6 separate regions of the Homo sapiens genome follow, and all the other regions are linked to region 1. The links are contacts of gene promoters, found by promoter capture Hi-C in human tissues and cell types (Jung and others, 2019). All regions are on one chromosome and are shown on one strand. The core of a region is centred on a gene start or on the middle of the fragment in contact, and the rest is flanking DNA. Distances in the headings are between cores, read along the strand shown.

What was found. The method cuts DNA at HindIII sites, captures the fragments that hold promoters and counts their contacts. A contact is called where the count stands out against the background at its distance.
Region 2: a fragment that was not itself captured here is called in contact with the fragment with the promoter of EFCAB11 in region 1 in 1 of the 25 tissues and cell types used here (lymphoblastoid cells).
Region 3: a contact is called between a fragment that was not itself captured here and the fragment with the promoter of EFCAB11 in region 1, in 1 of the 25 tissues and cell types used here (lymphoblastoid cells).
Region 4: a contact is called between a fragment that was not itself captured here and the fragment with the promoter of EFCAB11 in region 1, in 1 of the 25 tissues and cell types used here (aorta).
Region 5: a contact is called between a fragment that was not itself captured here and the fragment with the promoter of EFCAB11 in region 1, in 1 of the 25 tissues and cell types used here (lymphoblastoid cells).
Region 6: a fragment that was not itself captured here is called in contact with the fragment with the promoter of EFCAB11 in region 1 in 1 of the 25 tissues and cell types used here (dorsolateral prefrontal cortex).

What each region holds. Positions count from the first base shown.
Region 1 is chr14:89,952,814-89,957,115 of GRCh38, reverse strand. It overlaps EFCAB11 (EF-hand calcium binding domain 11), which reads left to right and starts at 2,386. Exons shown (of 6, transcript NM_145231.4): 1 at 2,386-2,530; 2 at 3,115-3,210. The coding sequence starts at 2,456. It overlaps TDP1 (tyrosyl-DNA phosphodiesterase 1), which reads right to left and starts at 1,189. Exons shown (of 17, transcript NM_018319.4): 1 at 1,146-1,189; 2 at 316-538. RefSeq lists a silencer at 862-1,091 and an enhancer at 2,157-2,657. The HindIII fragment of the contact is 8,047 bases long and covers 1-4,302 here.
Region 2 is chr14:88,469,786-88,474,087 of GRCh38, reverse strand. It overlaps PTPN21 (protein tyrosine phosphatase non-receptor type 21), which reads left to right. Exons shown (of 19, transcript NM_007039.4): 14 at 286-423; 15 at 1,623-1,844; 16 at 4,038-4,166. It also overlaps a transcript of SPATA7 not described here. Among named protein-coding and RNA genes, the nearest start is that of PTPN21, 83 kb to the left of the region's middle. The HindIII fragment of the contact is 3,644 bases long and covers 1-3,555 here.
Region 3 is chr14:88,647,980-88,652,281 of GRCh38, reverse strand. It overlaps EML5 (EMAP like 5), which reads left to right. Exons shown (of 44, transcript NM_183387.3): 28 at 2,356-2,370. Among named protein-coding and RNA genes, the nearest start is that of ZC3H14, 87 kb to the right of the region's middle. The HindIII fragment of the contact is 5,237 bases long and covers 1-4,302 here.
Region 4 is chr14:88,740,384-88,744,685 of GRCh38, reverse strand. EML5 (EMAP like 5) reads left to right here. Exons shown (of 44, transcript NM_183387.3): 4 at 595-663; 5 at 4,114-4,299. Among named protein-coding and RNA genes, the nearest start is that of EML5, 50 kb to the left of the region's middle. The HindIII fragment of the contact is 5,935 bases long and covers 1-4,302 here.
Region 5 is chr14:88,762,030-88,766,331 of GRCh38, reverse strand. The region is part of intron 1 of EML5 (EMAP like 5); the gene reads left to right. Among named protein-coding and RNA genes, the nearest start is that of EML5, 29 kb to the left of the region's middle. RefSeq lists a silencer at 1-20. The HindIII fragment of the contact is 3,048 bases long and covers 1,012-4,059 here.
Region 6 is chr14:91,146,928-91,151,229 of GRCh38, reverse strand. All of the region lies in intron 1 of DGLUCY (D-glutamate cyclase), which reads right to left. Among named protein-coding and RNA genes, the nearest start is that of SNORA11B, 23 kb to the right of the region's middle. The HindIII fragment of the contact is 5,320 bases long and covers 1-4,302 here.

The sequences.
Region 1 (4,302 bases), core at 1,137-3,636:
GCTGTCTAAATGATGGGGTGAAGAGCATTCCCAAGTAGAGGGAACCCAGCCGGCAGAGGTGGGAAAGAGGTCATAAGAAAGGACTTAGGCAAGGCAGGCAGTGGTCCGAAGCGGGTGAGGGGAGAAGACTTGTTAAAGAAATTGGATTTTATGCAATGATCAATGGGACCCCACTGAGGGCTTTAAGAAGGGGAGTCCGATTTACATTTATTTTTTTGAGACAGAGTCTCGCTCTGCCGCTCAGGCTGGAGCGCAATGGCGCAATCTCGGCTCACTCCAACCTCTCTGCCTCCCAGGTTCAAGCAATTCTCCTACCTTAGCCTCCCGAGGAGCTAGGATTACAGGCATCCACCATCACGCTCGGCTAATTTTTCTATTTTTGTAGAGACGGGGTTTCACCATGTTGCCCGGGCTGATCTCAAACTCCTAACCTCAAGTGATTCAGCCGCCTCGGCCTCCCAAAGTGCTAGGATGACAGGCGTGAGTCACCGCGCCCGGCCTTCGATTTGCCTTTTTAATACAGCTGTGTGCTCCAACTCTGCGGAGAATGGGTTGAAGACAAAGGAAGTGAGAGGGCTCTTGCTGAAGGCGTTGGGGACGGAGCAGATTCAGAACGTGAGGAAGTGACGGCAGCAGCTGCTAACCTTACTGCGTGCTCATTTGGGGCCGGCCAGGCACGATTCGAAGCGCCTCACCAAGTGTAAACTCGCTTCACCCTCAGGACAACTCTATACTACGTACCGTGACCGTCCTCCTATACTGGGAAACCGAGCACAGAAAGCTTAAGCGCCTGGCACGTGGTGGGCGCTTTCCTACTCACTTTCTGGGACCACGCACCTGTAAGCTTAGGTCTGGGAATAAAAACCCGAGCAGGGGCCCCTAGCGCCGCGCCCCGGCAGGACACAGGTCTCCGCAGCGCCCGTGCGCGCCCCCTGAGGCGCTGTGATCGGAGGAAACCGAGGCCCCGGGGCCGAGGCGACCCTGCCCCATCTTCCCGGCCGCGCCGCTTCCTCGCGGTCCGCCTCCAGCCCTGCCGGACCCCAGCAGCCCGCGCACCGCGACTCGGCCAGGAGCAGGATCCCGGGCCCGACCGCAGCCCGCGAGAGACCGCACCGAGTCCGCGCCCACTGCCGCCCAACACGTACCTGAGGCGCACAGAACCAACGCTTGCCTCGGATCCCGCCCCTTCGGCGGCCGCCGCGCATGCGCGCAGTTCAAACCCTGGCGGCAGCGGCTTGTGCCTCGAGGCCCGGCCCCTTCCCCTTCCGGAGAGCCCACCGCTGGGTCCTAAAGCCCGCCGGGTGTTTACCCAGGACGGGGCTGGGGAAACCTGGTCTCTCCTAGCTCTTGGCTTACTTCCTGGAGACTTCTTAAAACGAGAGGAGAACCAGAAAGGCGTCCCCTAACTTCGCTCTAGTTAACTAATAGCAAGACTCACCCTCTTTACAGGATTCTCATGGCTCAGGCTCCCAGGGCTCCATGCAGCGGCGTTTGGTTTAAAGTGGAGAGAGGATACGCTTAGGTTAAAGGCAGCTGCAAGGAGACCTGTGTCCTGGGAGGGGCTGGGTGCAGACTTTGAAATCTGCTGCAAAATAAAAAGTTAAATGAGTTCCCATTGGACTCAGAACCTCGAATGTCTGTTCCTTCTTCGCAACAGTTGCGTTCTCGTAAAATCTTCTGAGAAAAGGAACTCGCCCCACGTTCCTTGCCTTTAATAAGGATGTTTGCTGTGGGATTTGGGCTCGGTGCTGTTTATGGTATTTATTCTTGGAATCTCTTTCACACTAGGCATCTCTTCCAGAGGACTGAGTGAAATACATCTGTGTAAATATAACGGCTCGTTTCGTTCTTTCATTGAAGATCTACTTTGTGCCAGGCACAGTGCTAGGTGCTGGGATTATCTTGAGGACATAACAGATGTAGTAGCTGCCCTAGGAGCTCGATCCCAATGACTTGCTGATCTGAACGAGAATCCTGGACTTGGCTCTTTTCGTTTGGTTCTTCTTGTTTGTTCACAGTCTTTTTGTCTCCTATAACGTTTAGCATAGTGTCATAGATCTAAATGATTAAAAGTAACCTATTGCAAGATGGAGGGAGAGAATGAAATAAATCATGAACCAGGCATTGAACCAGCACCTAGAAGCGCTTGGATTTCCAGCCGCGCTCAACGAGTTAAGGGACAGTCAGGGGGTGGAGCCAAGTGCTGGGGGCAGGCCTGGGCGCCTCACTGCCAGGGCGGCTCCAAGGAAACGTAATTAAACAAAGACTCTGGCCAATAGCCCTGCGGGATTAACGCGAGTGGCTGGCAGGTTGTCCAATGGGAGGAGACGTCGGAGTTGCGCGGTGAAGTTCGGCTTCCTGAGCCGCGGTGGGCGTGGCCGCGGTAGGCTGCCAGCCAGGCTGGGAAAGCGGTGGTAGCTGGTTGGGTTGCTGGGGCTCGGTTGTTGTAGTCGCGATGTTCTTCTCCGAGGCCAGAGCCAGGTCGCGGACGTGGGAAGCCAGTCCCTCGGAACACAGGAAGTGGGTGGAAGTAGGTTTCCGGAGGGCGACTGAGCCTCGGACTTCAGCTTGGCCTGGGCCTCTCGCTTCCTCTCCCGTGTCTGGGTCTCACTCTGCCGGGTGTGCAGATAAGACCTGGGCTGCCTGTCCAAAGGGTCGTGGTTAATGACTGATCCTGGAGCTGCAGGGCTCCTGGCTCCCCGTCCAGGACTACGGCTACCTCCAAGTTCCATCTCCTTTCTCTCTATATAGTCTATTAATGGTAACCTTGAGTCTGCATCTCTCCCGCCTTTCAAAGCCAGCCCCTTTGCCTCACCTTCCTAACTCCAGGACTGAATTTTGGGTAGAATTTATCTCAGTGGCCTAAATGAATTAATTTGCGTCACCTAGCGGTTAACTCGTTTGCACTTTGAGGGAAATTTCAGCCCATGTTTAAGAAAATTTCAGTCCATCTTTAAGATTTCTTGAGAATTAATATTGGGATAATGAAATTCTATTTTCATACTCTACCGCTGGGCCAAGTTTTAGATTTTCGAGGTCCAAACTGTATAATAAACTAGTAATAAAAATAAACCATTTCTGTCTCATTAACTAAAGCTATTTAATGTTCTTCAGGTATTTAAAGCATGTGATGAAGATCACAAAGGATATCTCAGCAGAGAGGACTTTAAAACTGCTGTTGTAATGCTGTTTGGGTACAAGCCCTCCAAGGTAGAGCTTTCTTATATATTTGGGGATGGGGTAGACGATCAAAGGTGAATGGATCCTAAGAAAAGTTCACAGGGCTAGCTTAGGATGTTTATAAATTGCTTTATAAGCAATTTCAGAGATGTGTCCAGTGCTGAATTTTAGCTTCCTCTTAACACCTCAGCCCAGAGATGAAGTAGAAATCTTTTCCACTGGAGTCTACACAAGCCTATCTCACCACCAGGCTGCTAATAACTACTATAAATACAAGATGCTAGAGAGGTGCCAAGAGGGAAGACTGAGAGGGGAGTGTTGGTAACAGGAGAAATTTACATAGGACATGACATAGTCTCTTTCTCGTTTTACTTTTGTTGCTTTGTTTATAAAATACATCCACGGTCAAAAAATTAAAACAGTGCAGAAAGGTATAAAGTTGAGCATAAAATCCGCTCGCCGCCTACCAGAGGGTCCCACTCCTAGGGGATTACCATTAACAGTTTTTTTGTGTAATTCTGAAATTTTCTATCCATGACATACATATGCATAGTCTTTTATTGAAAACATAAATGGGTAAATATTGTGCCTACTTTAACTTGCTTTTCTCATTTAACAATATATCAACCTAAAAGCACACACCACTACTGCATTTTAAAATATGGTTGCATATTCTTTTTAGCCAGGTTCCTGTCTGGGGTTATATAGGTGGGGTTTTTTTTTTTTTTCTGCCAACATTGCTGCAATGATACACACATTTATGTCCTTGTGGCTGTATATCTGTGGAATAAGTTCCTAGAAGTATAACTGCTAGGTCATGGAATATGTACGTTTAAAATTTTGTTAGATATTTGCTCTCCAGAAAAGATTGCACCAATTCACCAATAATGAGAGTTGAGCTGAGCCTCCATGAACCTCCTGCTTGAGTAGGGCAAGTTTCCTGCTCACCCCTGTCTTTATGCTTTTCTGCTTTCCTGTTACATTCATTCGAGAGACAACACCCTTCTTGTTAAGCTGGAATTAGTCAGAGTCAAGATATTGTCCAGATTCAAGAAATTGAGCTGCCACCATCAAGCAAAGGAAGCACTCAGAGCTCAGCCTGGAATGCCATCCCTCACTCTC
Region 2 (4,302 bases), core at 484-2,983, 1.5 Mb after region 1:
GCAGTCTGCCTGGAGCCTCACCTTTCATTACAACAGAACTTTGTAACCAATAGTGTTTCAAAACCTTCTATCTGGAAGACTTTATCAGGGCTTTGGCCTTGAAAGGAATGTCTTCCTACTAATGTTTGTTAAACAAGTGGTGTGTGAAGGAGTGTAATCTTTCTGGGTTTATTGGCAAAGGAGAACACTCCCTCTGTGTGTTCCTGGTCTTCAGTGCATTGAAACTTCTTTTCACAGGGGTTGTATTTGTGTATATTTCATATATACATATAAATCCTTTTACAGGGAATGAAAAAGACTCGAGTAGATGCAAAAAAAATTGGTCCTCTTAAACTGGCTGCCCTAAATGGACTCTCCCTATCTCGAGTGCCTCTGCCTGATGAAGGAAAGGAAGTGGCTACCAGAGCAACGAATGATGAAAGGGTATGTATGGGACACACAGGGCTTTGTGCCTTCTCTGGAACAACCGGTAAATACTACGCAAATGCCTTCATGAGATTTTGGTGAATTTTCTAACACAATTTAATAATAAATGAGTGTTAAGGAATTTTGTAATATGGGCCTCAAAATTGGGGCAAATGTATAGCTAATGTCTTAATAGATAATTTCAGGTTCGAATGCTGATTTTTTGTTTGTTTGTTTCTCAGTGTTCTTTTTTACCTTCTCCTGGCCTTTTGGAGCAGTCTTGATTTTGATGGCCTTAAAGTGAGAAGAAATCTACAAAAATACAGGAGCATACAGGGGAAAAGCAGCAGACATTGACTTTTATTATACTGAAAGTTTATCTCGAGAGTAGTTTCTCAATTTTTCAAAACTTCCTTTGTGCCTGAGGTGTATTTTCTATGAGGTTTTATTACATCAAAATCAGATAGGCATACATTTGCTTTACAACGGGATCCTGGAGGTAGTTTCGAATATTTCCTACTGCTTTAGTCTTTTATATATCGTATGACATAAAATGGAAACATTTGTTCATAGCTGTTGGAACTCATTATCCGTCCCCTAGATTTACTTACTGTTCCCCAGGAGAATTCCATCTATTAGGGGTCACAAAATTGACCACAGATCTAGAGAAAATGAATTCAACAAATTTCTTTAGGCCAATTTTCAACTTTAAACAAAAGTTTGCATTATATTTCTCACCAAAATGATTGTCTTTTGTTCTTTTAACTCTTGTTGTTGTGGCTTTTTAAAATTTTAACTTCATTTTCACCTAGAATTTTGTTTCTGTTTTGGTTTTGGTTTGGTTTTTTTGAGATAGGTTCTCATGGTTCACTGCAGCCTCAACCTCCTGGGCTCAAGCAATCCTCCTGCCTCATCCTCCCAAGTAGATGGGACCACAGGCATGCACCACCACACCTGGCTCGTTTTTTAATTTTTTGCAGAGACGGGGTCTCACTGTGTTTCTCAGGCTGGTCCTGAACTCCTAGGCTCAAGTGATCCTCCCTCCTTGGCCTCCCAAAGTGCAGGGATTACAGGCATGAGACACCGTGCCCAACCTAGAATTTTCAATATTATACAGTGCTAGATTTGAAGCAGAAAACAAGATTTCAAATATACAGTCAAAAGGTAGCCACGACGTGTGGCTGTATTCATGTTATTACACATATTCTGTTTTATAGTGTAAAATTCTGGAACAACGATTAGAACAAGGAATGGTATTCACAGAATATGAAAGAATTCTTAAGAAACGGCTAGTTGATGGGGAGTGCTCAACAGCACGACTCCCTGAAAATGCAGAAAGAAATCGATTCCAAGATGTTCTTCCTTATGATGATGTGAGAGTGGAGTTGGTCCCAACTAAAGAAAACAACACTGGTTACATCAACGCATCACATATTAAGGTGAGAGGAACGCCTCAAGTAATCAACAGCACATGCAGTTTCAGTTAAGTTACAAGAATGGTAAGAATTGTATTCATGTCTGTTTAGAATTCAGATATTTTAAAATTTATTTTTATTGTATTGTTTTAGATAAACACCCTAGTTTTAAACATTTGTGACAAACTGTACTGCAAGCTGGGAAATCCACATACCAGTGCTAGATAAAAAGCGTCTATCAGACAGAGCCAAAGTCATGTCTACTCTCCATGTGCGAAACCACTCTGCCCCCAACACTGTTACCAGGACTCAGGGCGCACTTATTTGCCCGGCTTTTTTTTTTTTCTTTTGCCTTTTTTGAGATAGAGTCTTGCTCTGTCGCCCAGACAGGTGGAGTGCAGTGGTATGATCATGGCTCCCTACAGCCTTGACCTTGTGTTGCCTGGCTTTAGAACTTTGTCCTTCTAAATCTGAAGACCTCTTTTTAGCTCATAAATTCTGGGAGCCACTGAATTGCTAGTTTTTCCTCATCACATACTGACATGCATTTTTATGTAACAAAAGTGTCTGGGCTTTTTGATGGTGTTCACAAAAGCTTTCAACTTACCAAGGTGCCATCTGTTCTCTTTACATACTCTTTATAATAATTTTTAAGTATCATTTTTTTTCTTTGAAGAAGTGCTTTTTTCCTGGAACCAGTATAATGCCATTAAACTGGGGTAATGTTTATGGTGAGAGATAGGGGGTCCAGTTTTACTTTTCTGCTTATGGATATCCAGTCTTCCCAGTCCCATGTATTTAAGAGGCTGTCCTTCCCTAGTGTATGTTCTTGGCACCTTATCTGGGGTAATATCACTCCTATGAAAATGGACAAAATGATGATTCACAACACATGATGGAATAAAGCCAGATGTTCCCTCTTCCTCATTGTACCCTTTGTTCATGCTGGCCACATTCAATTCTTTATTTTGGGAAGGAGAAATCTCATGGTGAGTGAATGAGTAACTGTGGACAGGTGGTGGTTTTTTTCTTTAGTTTGCAAGTATTATTTGAGAAGGGAACAAGCTGACACCAAGGCTTTCTGGAGACTGGCAGTCTGCCTGTGAATGCCAGTACCCCTTGATGGCTTTTGGGAATCTATGCACATACTATTTTGTTTTTAAATATAATATCAGCATAATTTACTTAAAAACCGAGCATTTCCTTGAAATAACTCATCCAGTCTCTCATGACTAGATGGATAAGAATGAATGATACTGTAGTTCTGTAGTGATATTTCAAAATCTTCAGCAGCCACTTGCAGAATAGAGGAAAGAATTTGATAGACCTGGGTCTGACGCCTAGATCTAAAATGAGGTGGGACCTCACTTTATAAGCTGTGTTGTGGGACCTCATCTCACTTACATGGAAATAAATAAATGATGACACCTACCCTGCCAGCTTCTCACTAGTCCCCTCCTCCTCCCTAGTGTTTATTCACTGTTATAACCTGGTACTCATCCACAGTGGCAGCCACTGGGTGCTCAGTGAGACGATGTGGAGCGGTGACTAGGGGGCTGGCAGCCCTGAGTGAGAGTGCGTGTGGCACAAGGCTTGGCACTGGGTTTTACGTTTAGTGAGTGTTTGGAGACAGTTATTGTCGTCACTCAATATTGGTGAAGCCAAGATTTAACCCAGGTCTCTTAACCACAAATCTAGTAATTACTGTTGTATTAGACTGCTCTCAAGGAAGTTAAATCTGAAGTGGAAACTTAATATTATTGTGGAGAGTGACCTTGACTCAGAAGTTCAGAGGTGAGACTATCTTAAGTAGGAAGGTTTTTTTTAAAGAAGAGGCACCATGTCTGCAATAACAGCTACTTATTGAGTTATGTGCCAGGTACCATAGATACTGACTCAGTCCTCACAATGACCCTATGACGGTAGGCAGTATCTTTATTGTATAAATGAGAACTGACATTCAGCAAGGTTAAACAGGTTGCATAGATATTATGTATATTCACAGTACCTAAGTTTATAAAAATGTCAGTAATGCAAATTGTATTCACAAGGGAAAAGATGAAAAGTCTTTCCTTATTCTGCTGAATAATCCAGTTTACTACTTTTTTACTTTTTACTTTTTTAAAAAAACTTTTTTAGTACTACCATGAATGCATGCATACATACCTATGTATATTATACCCACACATCAATTTTTTTAACCTTTTCTAATCCCAGGTCTCTGTCAGTGGAATCGAATGGGATTATATTGCCACACAGGGACCATTACAGAATACCTGTCAAGATTTTTGGCAGATGGTATGGGAACAGGGAATTGCAATTATAGCAATGGTGACAGCAGAAGAGGTAGGTACTTATTTCTCTTAAGTGATTTTCTCAGCCTCTGAAGAACAGTTAATGTTAATCATCTGGAATCCTGACCTGTGGAGAAAAAGGCAGGGTAGGGTTGTGGTTCTGTTTCAGATGTGCCGTCTATGTGAGA
Region 3 (4,302 bases), core at 575-3,074, 1.3 Mb after region 1:
ATGGTATACCTCATGTACCTCAGATCATAGCAATGGGAGGTCACCTAAGGAAAGGGGATGGAGAGTGATCATCCAGTTTTTCATTATGTATAAAGAGGCAAAGTATTAAATTAGGGATATTTTTAAGAAAGCACAGTATACCATAATCTAAGTACTTGTACAGAATTCCATGTTTCAAGTAACTTGCTAGAATGCAGCATCGTATAGTGCAAAGGACATGAATTCTGGAGTCAGACAAATGGGTAAAATACTCATTTTTTTCATTACCAGTTGTGTGAGTTTGAAAAATTATTCATTCTTTCTGAACCTCAGTTTCCTCAGTGGCAAAATGAACATTATAATCCCTAACTTATGGTATATTTCAAGTTTTAAATGAAATAATGTAAATCAAGAATTTAGATAGTAGGTCTTCATTAATGACACCTTATCCCTTGGAATGAAATGAAAGTTAACTGAGGAGATACCTGGTAAATACTTAAACATTATTTCTGAAATTAAATATTCACAAAGCAATAAGCGCTACATATGTATTTATTAGATAAATACAGATAAATATGAAAATATAATATTATTTAAATATTCTAATTAGAATATTTGAAGTGTAGTGTTTAATATGACTTAAGGAAAATTATGTCTCCTAAGTAATGAAAAGTGAAAAGTGTTCTATGGGGAAGAAGGGGCTCTAGACATTCCCATAAATTTCTTTCATTTGTTATATTGATTTTTTAAAAAAATTATTTATTGGATAAATTTGGTATGTCAGAAAATGTGACCTAATTTTAATCTGTAGTCTGCTTCATTCACGGTAAAACACTTAAATGTAAATTTCCACCCATTGCTGAAGTGAGGCATGTTCTGACAGATGGAAATATTTTACTACTCATGAAGAATGATTAACACTGTCATAACTGAAATCTTTGATGTTAGCTTGTATATTCTGCAGCTAACTTTTTCAAAGTAATTTTTCAAATTGCTTTGCATTTTGTTCTCAATTTACTTTACAATTTCAACCCTGCTAAATATTTTGAAAATGACAAGGTGTGGGGAGGGAGAGAGAGGGTCTGTTGGCCCCCGTGGCAGAGTCCAAGCTCTACTCTTTGCCTTAAAAAAAAAAAAAAAAAAAAAAAGAAAATGACAAGGCAGAAGTCATCAATGTGATTTCATTTTCACAAAATGAAAAAAAATCAAAGGAGATTACAAATGAAGAGGTTCATATCTCTTTTACCAACTTAGAATATTTGTGAGGAGATAATATGGTTCATGGTTTATTTAAATAATTGCTTTTTAGTAACATATATTACTGTCATAAATATGAAATAAAGCACTTTATATGGAAAACAGGCCAGGTGCTGTGCCTCATGCCTGCAATCTCAGTGCTTTGGGAGGCTGAAGTGGGAGGACTGCTTGAGACTAGGTGTTTAGCACCAGCCTGGGTAACACAGCAAGACCCCATTTCTACAAAAAATAGAAAAATTAGCCAAGAATGGTAGTACATGCCTGTACCAGGAGGTTCCTACTCAGGAGGCTGAGCAGGAGGATTGCTTCAGCCCAGGAGTTGGAGGCTGCAGTGAGCTATGATCGCACCCTTGCACTCCAGCTATGGCAGCAGAGTGGGATCCTGTCTCTGGGAGAATAAATAAATGAAAAAAAAATTAAAAACAATTAAATACTTATCAAATATCCACTTAAAAGGAAAAATGCTTCTGATGACAATAACCATTCTATTTGGTTGATACTTTCGTGGATGTTTTTCCTAAGTGATAATTTTACCTTTTTCTTTTTTAATAAATGTTTTTGTTTTTATTTTTTTGTTTTGTTTTGTTCTTTTGAGACAGAGTCTTGCTGTGTCGCCCAGGCTGGAGTGCAGTGGCACGATTTTGGCTCACTACAACCTCCAACTCCTGGGTTCAAATGATTCTCCTGCCTCAGCCTCCTGAGTAACTGGGATTACAGGCAGGCACCACCACGCCCAGTTATTTTTTGTTATTTTTAGTAGAGACGGGGTTTCACCATGTTGGCTAGGCTGGTCTCGAACTCCTGACCTCAAGTGATTCACCCACCTCAGCCTCCCGAAGTGCTGGGATTACAGGCATGAGCCACCTTGCCCAGCCAATAAATGTTTTTATAACAAATATTATGTATTTAAAGTAGTTAATTTTTGTCAAATTTCCAGTATTTGTGAATAAAAATATTTAAATCAATGTTTAAACCAATGTGACATAAGTTAGACATTTTTGTATTTCCTTAAAATTCTGTTGACATGTTGCCTTTCTTCTGTTTGCTAAAATGCTGTATTCTATTCATCATCAATTTTTATATGTTTTCCTACTTTTTTCCCCCTTGCTCCTTTTGAAGGCAGGGAGTAGTAAGGTAAGTGTTTTATAAAAGAAAATATTTTATTCAAAAATTTACCCTTTATTTTATTCTTTATGGTATTTTAAGGTATTTTTTCCCTATAAAACATTTAACTACATTTGTCAACAAAGCATTATAAAATGAAGTAGGACAAATTCTATAAAAGAGTTGCATTTTTAGATAGCATATATGGTTGTTATTATAAGGGTCTTCATTATGATAAATTGTTTTACATATGACTGTACAAACTACTACAATGCAAATGAATAGTTTTGGTTTTCTTTAAGTTTCAGAGGCTCGTAAAAACAAACCTAACCACACATATATTTAAGTGAAAGACTATTCAATTTTAAACCTGTTAACATGATTTAATGCATGTTTAATCCATTCATTTAAAAAGATGAAAAGAGGGTAACTATGGTATTTGTATGTTTAATAAAATGACATGTAGGTAAAGACTCTTTGGGTTACTTTTATATCTACCTTTGGTGATGTGAAAATGTCTTGAAAGAGTTTCTGAAACGACAGTGTGGAAATGGCTAGTCTGTTTTATAAATTAAAAAAGGTATCATGGCTGGGCACGGTGGCTCAGGCCTGTAATTGTGGCTCAGGCCTGTAATCTCAGCACTTGGGAAGGCCGAAGTGAGAGGATTGCTAGAGCCTGGGAGTTCAAGACCAGCCTAGACAACATGATGAGACCCTGTCTCTACAAAAAATAAAAGTAAAAATAAATTAGCTGGGTGTGGTGGCAGCCCTGTGGTCCCAGCTACTCAGGAGGCTGAGGTGAGAGGGTCTCTTGAGCCTGGGAGTTTGAGGCTGCAGTGAGCTGTGATGGCATCACTACACTCCAGCTTGGGCAACACAGCAAGACCCTGTTTCGGGGGTGGGGGGTGGCGGGAGGAAGGTATCACTAGGAAAATGCTGGGAGATAAGGATGAAAACAGTAGACTTGAGACCAGATGGTGCAGAAACTCAAATAATAGGCACCTGTTAATATTATATCTACAGCAGGAATCCATCATCTGTTTTAAGCAGAGTGGTGTGTACAAAGATATGAGTTCAGAGTATGAAGCAACCTCTAAAATGGGCCATAAAATCTTATACTATTTTACCAGAAATAAAGCACCCGGATCTAGCCTCACATCTAGAATAGCTTACTCAGTACTGATCTCTACATTTTAAAGGAGACTTGGATAGTTTATAATGGGCTAGAAGAAAGCACAGGAGGAAGGGAGGTTGGGAGGCCACTTCATATAAAGAATAGTTAATTGACCGGGTGCAGTGGTTTATGCCTGTAATCCCAGCACTTTGGGATGTTAAGTTTGAAGGATCAGTTGAGGCCAGGAGTTAAAGATCAGCCTAGCCAATCTGATGAGGCACCGTCTCTACAAAAAAAATTTTAAAAATTAGCAGGGTGTGGTGGTGTGCACCTGTGGTCCCAGCTACGTGGGATGCTGTGGCAGGAAGATGTCTGGAGCGTGGGAGGTCAAAGCTCAAGTAAGCCATGATCACACCACTGCACTCTAGCTTGGGTGACAGAGCAAGACCCTGTCTCAAAAAAATATAATAATTATTATTCTGGGAATCTTGTTTCAAAACAAGAAAACTAAATGGAGATATCATTGTTATCTTGGATATGAATGGCTTTTTATGTAGAAGAGACCTGTCACAAGCAGTATTTATACAGAGTTTAGATGATTAGTTGTCATCAAAGCTGTACAATGATTGTTCTAGACATGTAAAGAAGGTTCCTGGTCTCAGTGGGAAAATGGATGAAATGACTTTCATGATTCCTTCCAATTTTGTTTTGATCATTATGCTATTAAGAGAGAAAAAAAACTTTTTAAAGATTACTTTTTTTACTAGCAAAATTCTAAATTCAGCATAGTCCCGAGTGACTAATTCTGCCTGCTTGGATTCACTGACTGGGGAACCCTCTTAGGTCAG
Region 4 (4,302 bases), core at 1,348-3,847, 1.2 Mb after region 1:
ACCTGGGTTTTTGCTTGTTTGCTTTTGTAACAAAATGTTTTGCATGTATTTAGAATTTATGGAATTTTAGAAAATAATGAAGCCTGGAGACTCCCCAAAATTTGAGTTAACTTTGACCTTTAAACAGTGAAAAAAATTACTGTAAAATCAGTGTTTGGATTCTTTATGTAAACAGTTCTGAGTGATAGAAAGCTATAAAGGTGTTTCTTATTTCTAGGCTGTGTAAGTGTCACGTTCCATTCTGAATCTCTTTTCTGTAGAAATTATGCAAGCACCTCCCTTCGTGTCCTAATTCTGTTCAACCATTCTTGTTATTTATGGACCAAATTTTTTTAAAAATTAAAAATAAACAGAGGTGTTAAATTTTACTCCAGTAGTGTTTGAAGTTCATAGAAATGAAGAAATGCTTTTTATTTCTTATCATTTTCAAATTTACTTTATTTCTCATAAGATTTTGAAGTGTGGGATGTTGATTATTATTTATTGAGGAATATTATTTTATGATTAGGAGTTTGGGCCATTTGGTCTTTTGGACAGGATTTTTAAATGATTCTGGAAATAAGTATTTTAATCATGAATCTGATTTGTTTACAGATATTTGATATTTCTTGGGATTTGTACCAGCCAAATAAACTTGTCAGCTGTGGTGTAAAACATATCAAGGTACTAGAAGGGTCTTGTTTTATAATAGTCACGTTTAGTTCTCTGCTGCTAAGTATATATTGCACTGTTAACAATTTAGCCTACTTTCAGAATTTTGATAGTACTTATTTTTAAAATGGCAATGTTTTTATTGTTCTTATGTTCAGTCAAACAAATATATATATTATTTGCTTTGAACTATTGTAAGGAATATAGGTATGAATAGGAAATTAATAAGCCACATTCCATAAAGAAATCTGTAGTCTAGTGAGGCAGGATTTACTGTGTCCATCCTGTTTCTTCATGTTTCACTTACAAAGTAAAATGTTGAGAATAGGAAAGAAATGAAGAGTTTTTCATTTACATAGAATGGTGTGGGAGAAGCAACATGAGTAGACCTGGCTTTGCCATTTATTAGCTGTTTAACCTGCTATGAGTTATTTAACCTCTTTGAGCTTTTATTTTCACATTTTAAAACTGTGACTGCTGTTACCATCCTCAAAGAATTGATGATTAAATAAGGCGGCAGTGTATATTCAAGTGCTTGTCATAGTGCCTAACACATGGTCTGCTTTCTGAAAGTGTTGCTTTTCCTTTTTCTATATTTGCTCCCTGATTTGACCTCAGCCTTTAAATTTTTTTTTTGACAAATAATGATAGTACATATTCATGGGTACATAGTGATGTTTTGATACATAAAAATGTATGGTGATCAGATTAGGGTAATTAGCTATCATCCCAAACATTTGCTATTTCTTTGTTTTAGGACCATTCAATATCCTCCTTCTAGCTATTTGAAACTGTGTATTCATATTACCTATACTCATTCTACAGTGGTATAGAGTAGTAGAACTTATTCCTCCTCTCTAGTTACAATTTTGTATCCTTTAACAAATCTCTCCTTGTCCCTCTCTCAGCCTTGATAGCCACTATTTACTTTGCTTATGAAAGCTCTGGGTTTTGTTTTATAATTACAGCTCAGATTTTGAAGCCTGTAAAGTCAGTGGTGATATTCATTATTATGTTTATAGTTACTTTTAAATCATTGGAACAAATTGGAATTAACTTGCTTTACTTCCACTGTCTGATGTAACAGTTCCTGGTAACAGTTAATTCCTAGTGAATTAATTAAGGTTCTGTGTTCACATTCTTTATTTCAATATGCCTAACTCCATCCACGTTTTCTCCAGTGCATCTTTCACTGCTGCTGCAATTCTTGATTTGTTATTCTGGTATTGATTTGATTGATGGATAGTAGTAAATATTTATTTTTTGACAAATATTTAATACCAAAAAGGCTGTATGCTGGGCTTTAAGGCACATGATATAAGCACTGTGAAGGTATTTTTGTCTTGTTCATCTTTGATGGACAGTGTGTTTGATATGGTACTTGATATATATTAAGTGCTTAATAAGTGATTGGCAAATTAATTATGAATAAGGAGATCTTACTATTTTATATTGTAAGTAAAGCTAAAGGCTCCATTTTCAGGTTTTTATAAAAAGCTTATCTCAAACTAAATAAACTATATTTTTATAATGAGTTACATTTCTTTCCCTTTGCTAGAAGAAATGAATAGTAACATAGTTCTCTTTGCAGGCAATACATGTGAGGAAATTAATTCCCAGAGATGATCTAGAACTGCACTGTCCAACCATACATAGCTATTTAAACACAAATTAGTTAAATGAAACTTAAAATTCATTTCCTCAGTCACACTAGCAGTACATTTCATATGCTTATGTATCTAGTAGTGGTTACTGTATTGGAAAGCGTGTGTGTGTGTGTAATATTTTCATCATCACTGAAATTTCTATTGGTCAATATTGATTTGGATTCTAGAACAATAGTTCTTAACCCTTGCTGAGCATCAAAATAATTTGGGTACCTGGGCTTCATGCTTCAGAGATTCTGTCTCAGTTCATCTCAATTGGGAGTCCAGGCATCCCATTTTATGATTTCCCAGGTGATTCTAATGTGAAGCTAACATTGGGAATCACTGATCTAGAAGAAAATAATGGATTCAAATTAGGACATGCTGAAAGAAAGAAAACAAGCCACTTATGTACACAAATTATGGAGATTTTAAGTTTAAAAATTACAAAGTTTAATTAAAGTACTCATTAGATCTTTGAATAGATAATGATCATAATTTTTAGTTCTTTGAGGCTTCAAATTTTAAAATAAGAATATATGATAATAAATTATTTTAAATGTTAATTACTTATTACAAAGTTGAATTTTTTCTTTGGGCCTAATTTCTTTATGCAGAACTATTTAATGTATGTATCTCTGCCCTGTCCCATTTTTTTGGTTTATTTTTTAGAGATGGGATCCTACCATGTGGCCCATGCTGGAGTGCAGTAGCTATTCACAGGTGTGATTTATAGCTCACTGTAGCCTCAAACTCCTGGCCTCAAACCATCCTCCCACCTCAGCCTCCCAAGTTGCTGAGACTACAGGCGTTTGCCACTGTGTCCACTTCCCCCCAACTCCTTTTTCTTTAAATTTCTCTCCGTGAACTATAAAAATTTACCTAATTCCACCTAATAGAACAAAAGCCCTGGTAATGAAGATTCATGGTTAACTTCTTATTTTCTCCCAAGAATGAACAAATCATTCCACATGGACATCTATCTTATTTTTTTAAGCTTTACAAGCAAAGCAATTGCTCAGCTTTGAAAATATCAAATATTATAGTTACAGTGAGCTGCAGTTACCGTGAGCTGTAGCATACTCTTTTTTTCCTATCCTTAATGTTTCTATCAGAGAGAGTATGTTAGATTTGGTCCTTTTTCTTCTTCTTAGTCTATGATGACTTACCTTCATTTTCATTGCTAACCGATTCCCAACTTTTTAACCTAAAATTTTTTTTTTTCTTGAGACGGAGTCTCACTCTGCGCCCAGGCTGGAGTGCAGTGGTACACTCTTGGCTCACTGCAACCTCTGCCTCTTGATATCAAGCGATTCTTGTGCCTCAGCCTCCCGAGTAACTGGGATTACAGGCATGCGCCACCATACCTGGCTAATTTTTGTATTTTTAGCAGAGATGGGACTTCGCCATATTGGCCAGGCTGGTCTTGAACTCCTGACCTCAGGTGATCTGCCTACCTTGCTCTCCCAAAATGCTGGGATTACAGGCATGAGCCACTGTGCCTGGCTTAATCTAAGTTTTATGTAGATTTCTTTTCAGAAACCTAAGGAAAGCATAGCATATTTTAAAAATAATCTGATTCAAACCCCTTATTCTTACAGATAAGAATTGAAACCAGTGACTATATAGCTATGCTATAACGTAGCTTTTGACAGCACTAGGATGAGAATCTGAACATTGAATGCTATTTTATCATAAGGCAATTTCTTAGTTAATTTTTAGCTCACTGCTCTAATATAGCATCAAAGTATTGGGAATGTTTTACTTTATTTTATAAGAATTCTTTGGTAATTTGATTATACTATATACCTTTTAGTTCTGGAGTTTATGTGGAAATGCTCTGACCCCAAAACGAGGTGTCTTTGGTAAGACGGGTGACCTTCAGACAATACTGTGCCTAGCCTGTGCAAGGGATGAATTAACATATTCTGGTGCACTCAATGGGGATATATATGTTTGGAAAGGAATCAATCTTATACGAACAATACAAGGAGCCCATGCTGTA
Region 5 (4,302 bases), core at 1,286-3,785, 1.2 Mb after region 1:
TTTCTCCTATTTGCTTTTGAAAGAAGAGAAATATGGCTCTGTTCCGCCCAGCTCTCAGGCAGCCAGACCTAATGGTTATCTCCCTTGTTCCCTGAACATCGCTGTTATCCTGTTCTTTTTTCAAGGTGCCCAGATTTCATATTGTTTAAACAATTTGTGCAGTTAACGCAATAATCACAGGGTCCTGAGGCGACATACATCCTCAGCTTACGAAGATGACGAGATTAAGAGATTAAAGTAAAGACAGGCATAGGAAATCGCAAGAGTATTGATTGGGGAAGTGATAAATGTCCATTAAATCTTCACAATTTATGTTCAGAGATTGCAGTAAAGACAGGCATAAGAAATTATAAAAGTATTAATTTGGGGAGCTAATAAATGTCCATGAAATCTTCACAATTTATGTTCTTCTGCCATGGCTTCAGCCGGTCCCTCCGTTCGGGGTCCCTGACTTCCCACAACAGTATGCCATGAAGTAACTGTTCTTAAAACAAATAGAATGTTGGAAGTTCTCAGCAAAGAAATAGAAGTTGTAGAAAAATGGAATACTTAGAACTGAAAATATAAAAATATAAATAATTCTCCAGGGGACTCAATTTCTGAGTCTGCATGGTAGCCAGACTGGCCCCAAAGATATCCATACTCTAATTCCTGGAACCTGTGAATTTTTTATGTTAAACAAAGCACACATGACTTTGCAGATATAATTAAGATAGGGATGTACCTTAAGATATTGAGAGTATCTTGAATTATCTAGATGGGCCCAGTCTAATTATGTGAGCCCTTAAAAGCAAATAATTTTCTTTAGCTGGAATGAGAAAACATGCAGCAGAAGTCAGAAAGATTCAAAGCTTGAGAAGAACTCAATGTGCCGTTGCTGATTGGAAGATGGAGGTGGTAACATCATGAGGCATGCAGTTGGCCTTGAGGAGGTGAGCAGTTCCCCCTTGACAGCCAGCAGGGGAGTGAAAGCCTCAGTCCCTTTACCACAAGGAATTGAATTCAGCTAACGTTCTGAATGAACTTGGAAGCTGACTCATCCCCAGAGACTCTAGAAAGTAATTTAGTTGTGTTAACACCTTGACTTTTGGCCTTGTGAGACTGTATGCACAGGACTCAGCTGAGCCACACTAACCAGATTTCTGCCCTGCAGAACTGGGAGATAATAAGCTTGTATTGCTTTAAGGTGCTAAATTTATGGTAATTTGTGACATCAGCATAGAAAACTAATATAATACCCTTGTTACAAACTAATATGTTACTTTTTTCTTTGGATGCTGGCAAAGACGTGAAATTCCTAGGTTAGAGACAAAGGACTTTATTATTCATGGCATAGAAAACAGCATGAGCTAGTCATGGCAGAATGCACATCCTTTTCAAGTGCCAAAACGTTTACCAAAATAGGCTATATATTATAAAACAAACCTTAACAAATTTAAAAGAATTGAAATCATATAGAGTATGTTCTCTGACCATAATGGAATCAAAATAAAAATCAGTAACACAGAACAGAAGGGAAAGTAGAATATATTATGAAAATGAAAAGAAGAAGAAAGTGAAAATACAACATATCAAAATTTGTAAAATTCAGCCAAAGCAGTGTTTCAAGGGAAATTTGGAGCATTAAAATGCATATTTTTTAAAAGAAAAATAATCTCAGGTCAGTAATCTAGGAGTCTGACTTAAGAAAATAGAAATGGAAGAGCAAACACAAAAACAAACAAAGTAGGAAATAATGAAGACAATTAGTGCAAACAGTGAAACAATAGAGAAAAACCTAAAGTTGGTTCTTTGAAAAGGATCAGATTGATAAACTTCTAGCTAGGCTGACCAAGAATAAAAAAGAGAAGACAAAAATTACCAGTATTCATCAGGATATCACTATTGACCTAAAGACGTTAAAAGGAGAATAAGGGATTACTATAAACAACTTATACATTTGACAACTGAGATGAAATGAACTATTCCCTCAAAAGATATAAACTACCAAACTTACAAGAATAAATGATTCCAATTCCACACAATTGCTTATAGAAAATAGAAGAGGAAGTACTACTTCTCAACTGTGTTTATGAGGCTGGCATCACTCTAATACAAAATCCAGACAAACATTTGAAGAAAAGGAAACTACAGACAACTGTCCCTCATTAATATAGATGTAAAAATTCTCAACAAAATAAGCTAATAAGCAAATAAAATCCGTCAGTAGGATAATATATCATAACCAGGTTTCATTCCAGGTAGGATTCATTCCAGGAATACAAGGCTGGTTCAACATTTAAAAATTAATCAGTGTAATTCGCTATATAATTGCTAAAGAAGAAAAGCCAGGTGACTATCTCAGTAGTTACAGGAAAAGCATTTGACAGAATTTAATACTTATTCATATTTTTAAAATGCTTAGCAAACTAGGACTAGAAGTCCACTTCTTTAACCCGGCTATAAAAGCATCTGTAAAAACCTACAGCTAAGTTTATTCCTGATGGTGAGAGACTGAATGTTTTCCTTGTAAAAGCAGGAAAAAGACCAGAGTGTCTATTCTTGTCACTTCTAATTAAACATCCTGCTATTTTATTGAGTATTTTTGCATCGATGTTCATCAGGGATACTGGCCTGAAATTTCCTTTTTTTGTTTTGTCTCTGCCATGTTTTGGTATCAGGATGATGCCGGCCTCATAAAATGGGTTAGGGAGAATTCCCTCTTTTTCTATTGTTTGGAAGTGTTCTGGAAGGAATGGTACCAGCTCCTCTTTGTATCTTTGATAGAATTCGGCTGTGAATCTGTCTGGTCCTGGGCTTTTTTTTGGTTGGTAGGCTATTAATTACTGCCTCAATTTCAGAACTTGTTATTGGTCTATTCAGGGATTCGACTTCTTCCTGGTTTAGTCTTGGGGGGGTGTGTGTGTCTAGAAATTTATCCAGTTCTTCTAGATTTTCTAGTTTATTTGCATAAAGTTGTTTATAGTATTCTCTGATGGTAGTTTGTATTTCTGTGGGATCAGTGGTGATATCCTCTTTATCATTTTTTATTGTGTCTATTTGATTCTTCTCTCTTTTCTTCTTTATTAGTCTTGCTAGCTGTCTATCTATTTTGTTATCTTTTCAAAAAAACAGGTCCTGATTCATTGATTTTTTGAAAGGGTTTTCTTCTCTGTCTCCTTCAGTTCTGCTGTGATCTTAGTTATTTCTTGTCTTCTGCTAGCTTTTGAATTTGTTTGCTTTTGTTTCTCTAAGTGTTTTAATTGTGATGTTAGGGTGTCGATTTTAGATCTTTCCCACTTTCACCTGTGGGCATTTAGTGCTATAAATTTCTCTCTAAACACTTCTTTAGCTGTGTCCCAGAGAGTCTGGTGTGTTGTGTCTTTGTTCTCATTGGTTTCAAAGAACGTATTTCTGCCTTAATTTTGTTATTTACCCAGTAGTCACTCAGGAGCAGGTTGTTCAGTTTCCGTGTAGTTGTATGGTTTTTGAGTGAATTTCTTAATCCTGAGTTCTAACTTGATTGCACTGTGGTCTGAGAGACTGTTTGTTATGATTTCCATTCTTTTACATTTGCTGAGGAGTGTTTTACTTCCAATTATGTGGTCAATTATAGAATAAGTGCTATATGGTGCTAAGAAGAGTGTATATTCTGTTGATTTGGGGTGGAGAGTTCTGTCAATGTCTGTTAGGTCTGCTTGGTCCAGAGCTGAGTTCAAGTCCTGAATATCCTTGTTAATTTTGTGTCTCATTGATCTAATATTGACAGCGGGGTATTAAAGTCTCCCACTATTACTGTGTGGGAGTCTAAATCTCTTTGTAAGTTTCTTTTTTTTTCCCCCGAGATGGAGTTTCACTCTTGTTGCTTAGGCTGGAGTGCAATGGCATGATCTCAGCTCACTGCAACCTCTGCCTCCCGGGTTCAAGTGATTCTCCTGCCTCAGCCTCCCGAGTAGCTGGGATTACAGGCATGTGCCACCACAACCCGCTAATTTTTTATTTTTATTAGAGACTGGGTTTCTCTGTGTTGGTCAGGCTAGTCTCGAACTCCCGACCTCAGGTGATCCACCTGCCTCGGCCTCCCAAAGTGCTGGGATTACAGGTGTGAGCCACTACGCATGGCCCGTGTCTTTGTAAGTTTCTTAGAACTTGCTTTATGAATCTGGGTGCTCCTGTATTGGGTGCATATACATTTATAAACTATCATCAGAGCGAACAGGCAACCTACAGAATGGGAGAAAATTTTTGCAATCTGTCCATCTGACAAAGGGCTAATATCCAGAATCTACAAGGAACAAATTTACAAGAAAAAAACAACCCTAT
Region 6 (4,302 bases), core at 1,250-3,749, 1.2 Mb before region 1:
ATAAGAAACTATAGAAAAATTATGGATAAACAAAATGTGGTATATACATACAGTAGAATATTCTTCAGCCTTAAAAAGGAAGGAAATTCTGATGCATGCTACAACATGGGTGAACCCTGAGCACGTTATGCAAACTGAAATAAGTCAGACATAAGTGACAAATATTGTATGATTCCATTTCTATAAGACACCCACAACAGACAGATGGACAGACATGGAAAGCTGAATGGTGGTGACCACAGGCTGGGTCCAGGAGATGGGGTGGGGAATGGGGAGTTACCGTGTAATGGGCAGAGAGTTTCAGTTTGGGAAGATGAAGAGAGTTCTGGAAATGGAGAGTGGTGATGGTTGCACAACAATGTGAATGTACTTAATGCCACAGAACTGTACACTTAAAAATGATTAAAATGGTAAACTGTATGTTGTATATTTTTAACCATAATAAAAATTTTAAATTAAAATGTTAAAAATCAAGTTGTGATTGTTAAAAAACATTCGGATTAAGGCCAGGTGTGGTGGCTCATGCCTGGAATCTCAGCACTTTGGGACGCTGAGGCGGTAGGATCCCTTGAGTCCAGGAGTGCGAGACCCCCATCTCTACAAAAAACAAAAACTAAAAAAATTAGCTGGCATGGTGGCGTGCACCTGTAATCCCAGCTACTCAGGAGGCTGAGGCAGGAGGATTGCTTGAGCCCAGGAGGTCAAGACTGCTGTGAGCCACGATTGCACCACTGCACTCCAGCCTGGGGGACAGTGAGACATTCTCTCAAAAAAAAAGAAACATTCACATTAAATGTTTAGTTTCAAATTGTTGGTGTGAAAAGCAACAATTTTTCAATGTGTTGCTGAAAAGCACCACACCAGACTCAGTGTGTGTCTTGAATATCAAATATTCTAGCCCCGGGGCCCCTGTTCCAGCTCCACAGGAAGGCGCTAATATTGGGAAAGGAAGGTTTTGTGTGGGTGCTTCACACAGGCCAAACTGGATTTTTTTTTTTTTTTTTTTTTTTTGAGATGGAGTCTCACTCTGTCACCCAGGCTGGAGTGCAGCGGCGCAATCTCCACTCACTGCAACTTCCACCTACTGGGTTCAAGCAATTCTCCTGCCACAGCCTCCTGAGTAGCTGGGACTACCGGTGCCTACCACCATGCCTGGCTAATTTTTGTATTTTTAGTAGAGGCAGGGTTTCACCATATTGGCCAGGCTGGTCTCAAACTCCTGACCTTGTGATACGCCCGCCTCGGCCACCCAAAGTGCTGGGATTACAGGTGTGAGCCACCGCACCCAGCCCAAACATAAGCTTTATGACTCTGAAAATTTGGGAATAACTCTGTCTGCCCAGCATGACTGTGAATGTCCATTCTTAGAGAGTTCTAGAATATTTGAGAACCTCATTCTTCAAAGTAAATCTGCTTTTAGTTACTTAGCCAAATAAAGCAACCCAACCAAGTGGCAAAAGTCCAAGGTATGACTGCTAAGGGCAAGAAAGGCCAACCCTTCTGTTTCACAGTTTGCTTGGCCTGTAAAACTAGAGCACACGTGTTTGCTTATTTAGTACAGAGTTTCTGCAACGGGTCCATCAGGCCAAATTCCTGTAACCACAAAATATGATGCACGAAATCTACATGCAGGTTGAGTGTATGATACTGCCAACAGTAAACGCTGAGTCATCGGTTCCATGGTTAGTCCTAATGATAAACTAGGCAGTTCCTTTAAGGATGTTTAGCTACTTCTGGCACTGCACAGCTCAACCAACGGCCTGACCCACAAGCCTACTTCAGGGTCACCATGAGCACCACTCCCTGGTTGGAGAGACTGGGGGCTCCACACATCTCCATCACTGGGAGAGAATTTGCCAGAGTGATAACGACCTAGAGACACCACCTGCATACACAGAAGACAGGCTGAACTAATAGCAAAGTATGCAAACTCTTTGGGCCTCAGTTTCTTTCTTTTCTTTTCTTTTCTTTTTTTTTTTTTTGAGATAGAGTTTCGCTCTTGTTGCCCAGGCTGGGGTGCAATGGCACCATCTCGGCTCACAGCAACCTCCGCCGCACGGGTTCAAGTGATTCTCCTGCCTCAGCCTCCCGAGTAGCTGGGATTACAGGCATGCGCCACCACGCCTGGCTAATTTTGTATTTTTAGTAGAGACGGGGTTTCTCCATGTTGGTCAGGCTGATCTCAAACTCCCCACCTCAGGTGATCCACCCGCCTCGGCCTCCCAAAGTGCTGAAATTACAGGTATGAGCCACCGCGCGTAGCCTTTACTTTTCTTTTTTTGAGACAGGGTCTCACTCTGTCGCCCAGGCTGGGGTGCAGTGGCACAATCACGGCTTACTGCAGCCTTGACCTCCTGGGATCAAGCGATCCTCCTACCTCAGCTTCCTCAGTAGCTGCTACTACAGGTACACTGCACCATGCCTGGCTAACTTCTGTATTTTTTTGGTAGAGACAAGGTTTCACTATCTTGTCCAAGGCTGGTCTTGAACTCTTGAGCTCAAGTGATCCTCCTGCCTTGGCCTCCCAAAGTGCTGGGGTTACAGGCATGAGCCACTGCGCCCAGCAAGGGCCTCAGTTTCTTCATGTCAAATGCCACACATGCAGGACAGACATTTTGTTAGCACCTTCTGGTTCTATCATTTTCGTAATCTGTAACTAAACAATAATTTATGAGTTAATGATGTTATTGAGTTTTAAGTTTTTGGTTGTTAAAATAAATTCCTAGCCAGGCACAGTGGCTCATGCCTATAATCCCAGCACTTTGAGAGGCCAAGGTGGGTGGATCGCTTGAGCTCAGGAGTTCGAGACCAGCCTGAGCAAAATGGTGAGACCCTGTCTTTACTAAAAATACAAAAAAATAGCCAGGCATGGTGGTACACACCTGTGGTCCCAGCTACTTGGGAGGCTGAGGTAGGAATATCGCTTGAGCCTTGGGGGTGGAGGTTGCAGTGAGCCGAGATGGAGCCACTGCACTCCAGCCTGGGTGATGGAGAGAGATCCTGTCTCAAGAAAAAAAAAAAATCCTTTGTTAGAGATGTGTGTATCTTTCTTTTTTGAGACAGAGATTTACTCTGCCATCCAGGCTGGAGTGCAGCGGTGCAATCTTGGCTCACTGTAACCTCCACCTACTTAGTTCAAGCGATTCTCCTGCCTCACCCTCCCAAGTAGCTGGGATTACAGGTGCGTGCCACTGCACCTGGCTAATTTTTGTATTTTTAGTAGAAATGGGGTTTCACTATGTTGGCCAGGCTGGTCTTGAACTCCTGACCTTAAGTGATCCACCTGCCTCAGCCTCCCAAAGTGCTGGGACTACAGGCTCACGTGCGCCACTGCGCCCCGTCTGTGTTTCTTTAATTGAGAATAAAATTACCTTCAGTTGGTTGGTCTGGTCTCAGAATCACACATTGGTCCAGAATTACACTTGCCCTGCTCTGAAGAAGAATGCCACCTGAGAGCACAAATGTATAGAAAGAAATGTACATAATAAAGCCATCACAGAAGCAGATATGATGGGACAGATATAATAACAGATGCCCTTTCAACTTGATCCTCTCATGCTAGGCCTAAAATAAAAGAGTTAGATTTAGTGTGTGTATATATGGGTTACGTTTCAGAAGACATGAAATTGGTCTAAATCTAAATAAAAATGAGCTAAGCTCTGCCTAGGTTCATTTACATTCATCTATCAACAGCCTTGCAGAGATGGTTATGTAAGTGCTACGGGATGGTTCCAGCACTTGTTTCAAAGGGTCTTTCAGTCCATTCAAGCTGCATCCAAAAATAGTTGAGGCTGGGCCCTATTCTGTACTGCCTGTGGCTTCACAAACTGAAAACCACCATATCAGACGTGGTTATGCCCTACCTTGCTCGGCTTTCTGGGTTAGATCCTCTGAAATTTCATTTTATGAGTATTCCTGATTACCAAATGTTCAGAACTCAGCTCCTGCCCCACAAATTCTTTATGACATTGCATAAAACCAGTGACAGTGCCACATCCAGGCAGGATGAGGACCACGCACTCCTAACTATGGAGACAGGAATGCTGGCAGTGCTACTTTTGAGGTCACTGTTGGCCAAGATAATTGCTTCACTAGGCAAAGGCAAACCCCCTTAAGTGAGTTTCCTGAGGACTCAGAGAGGAAGGCCACAGGTGCTCCAGGAGGAGGATGCACCATCAGGGACCTTGGACAATGACAGCAAGACAGTGAGAAGCCTCTGGGGACCATTCTACAGGGGACTTCTTCCCTGGCCGTGCAGCTGACAGGCCCCAGGAAGCAGAGTCCCTGGGCTCTCCCTGGCAG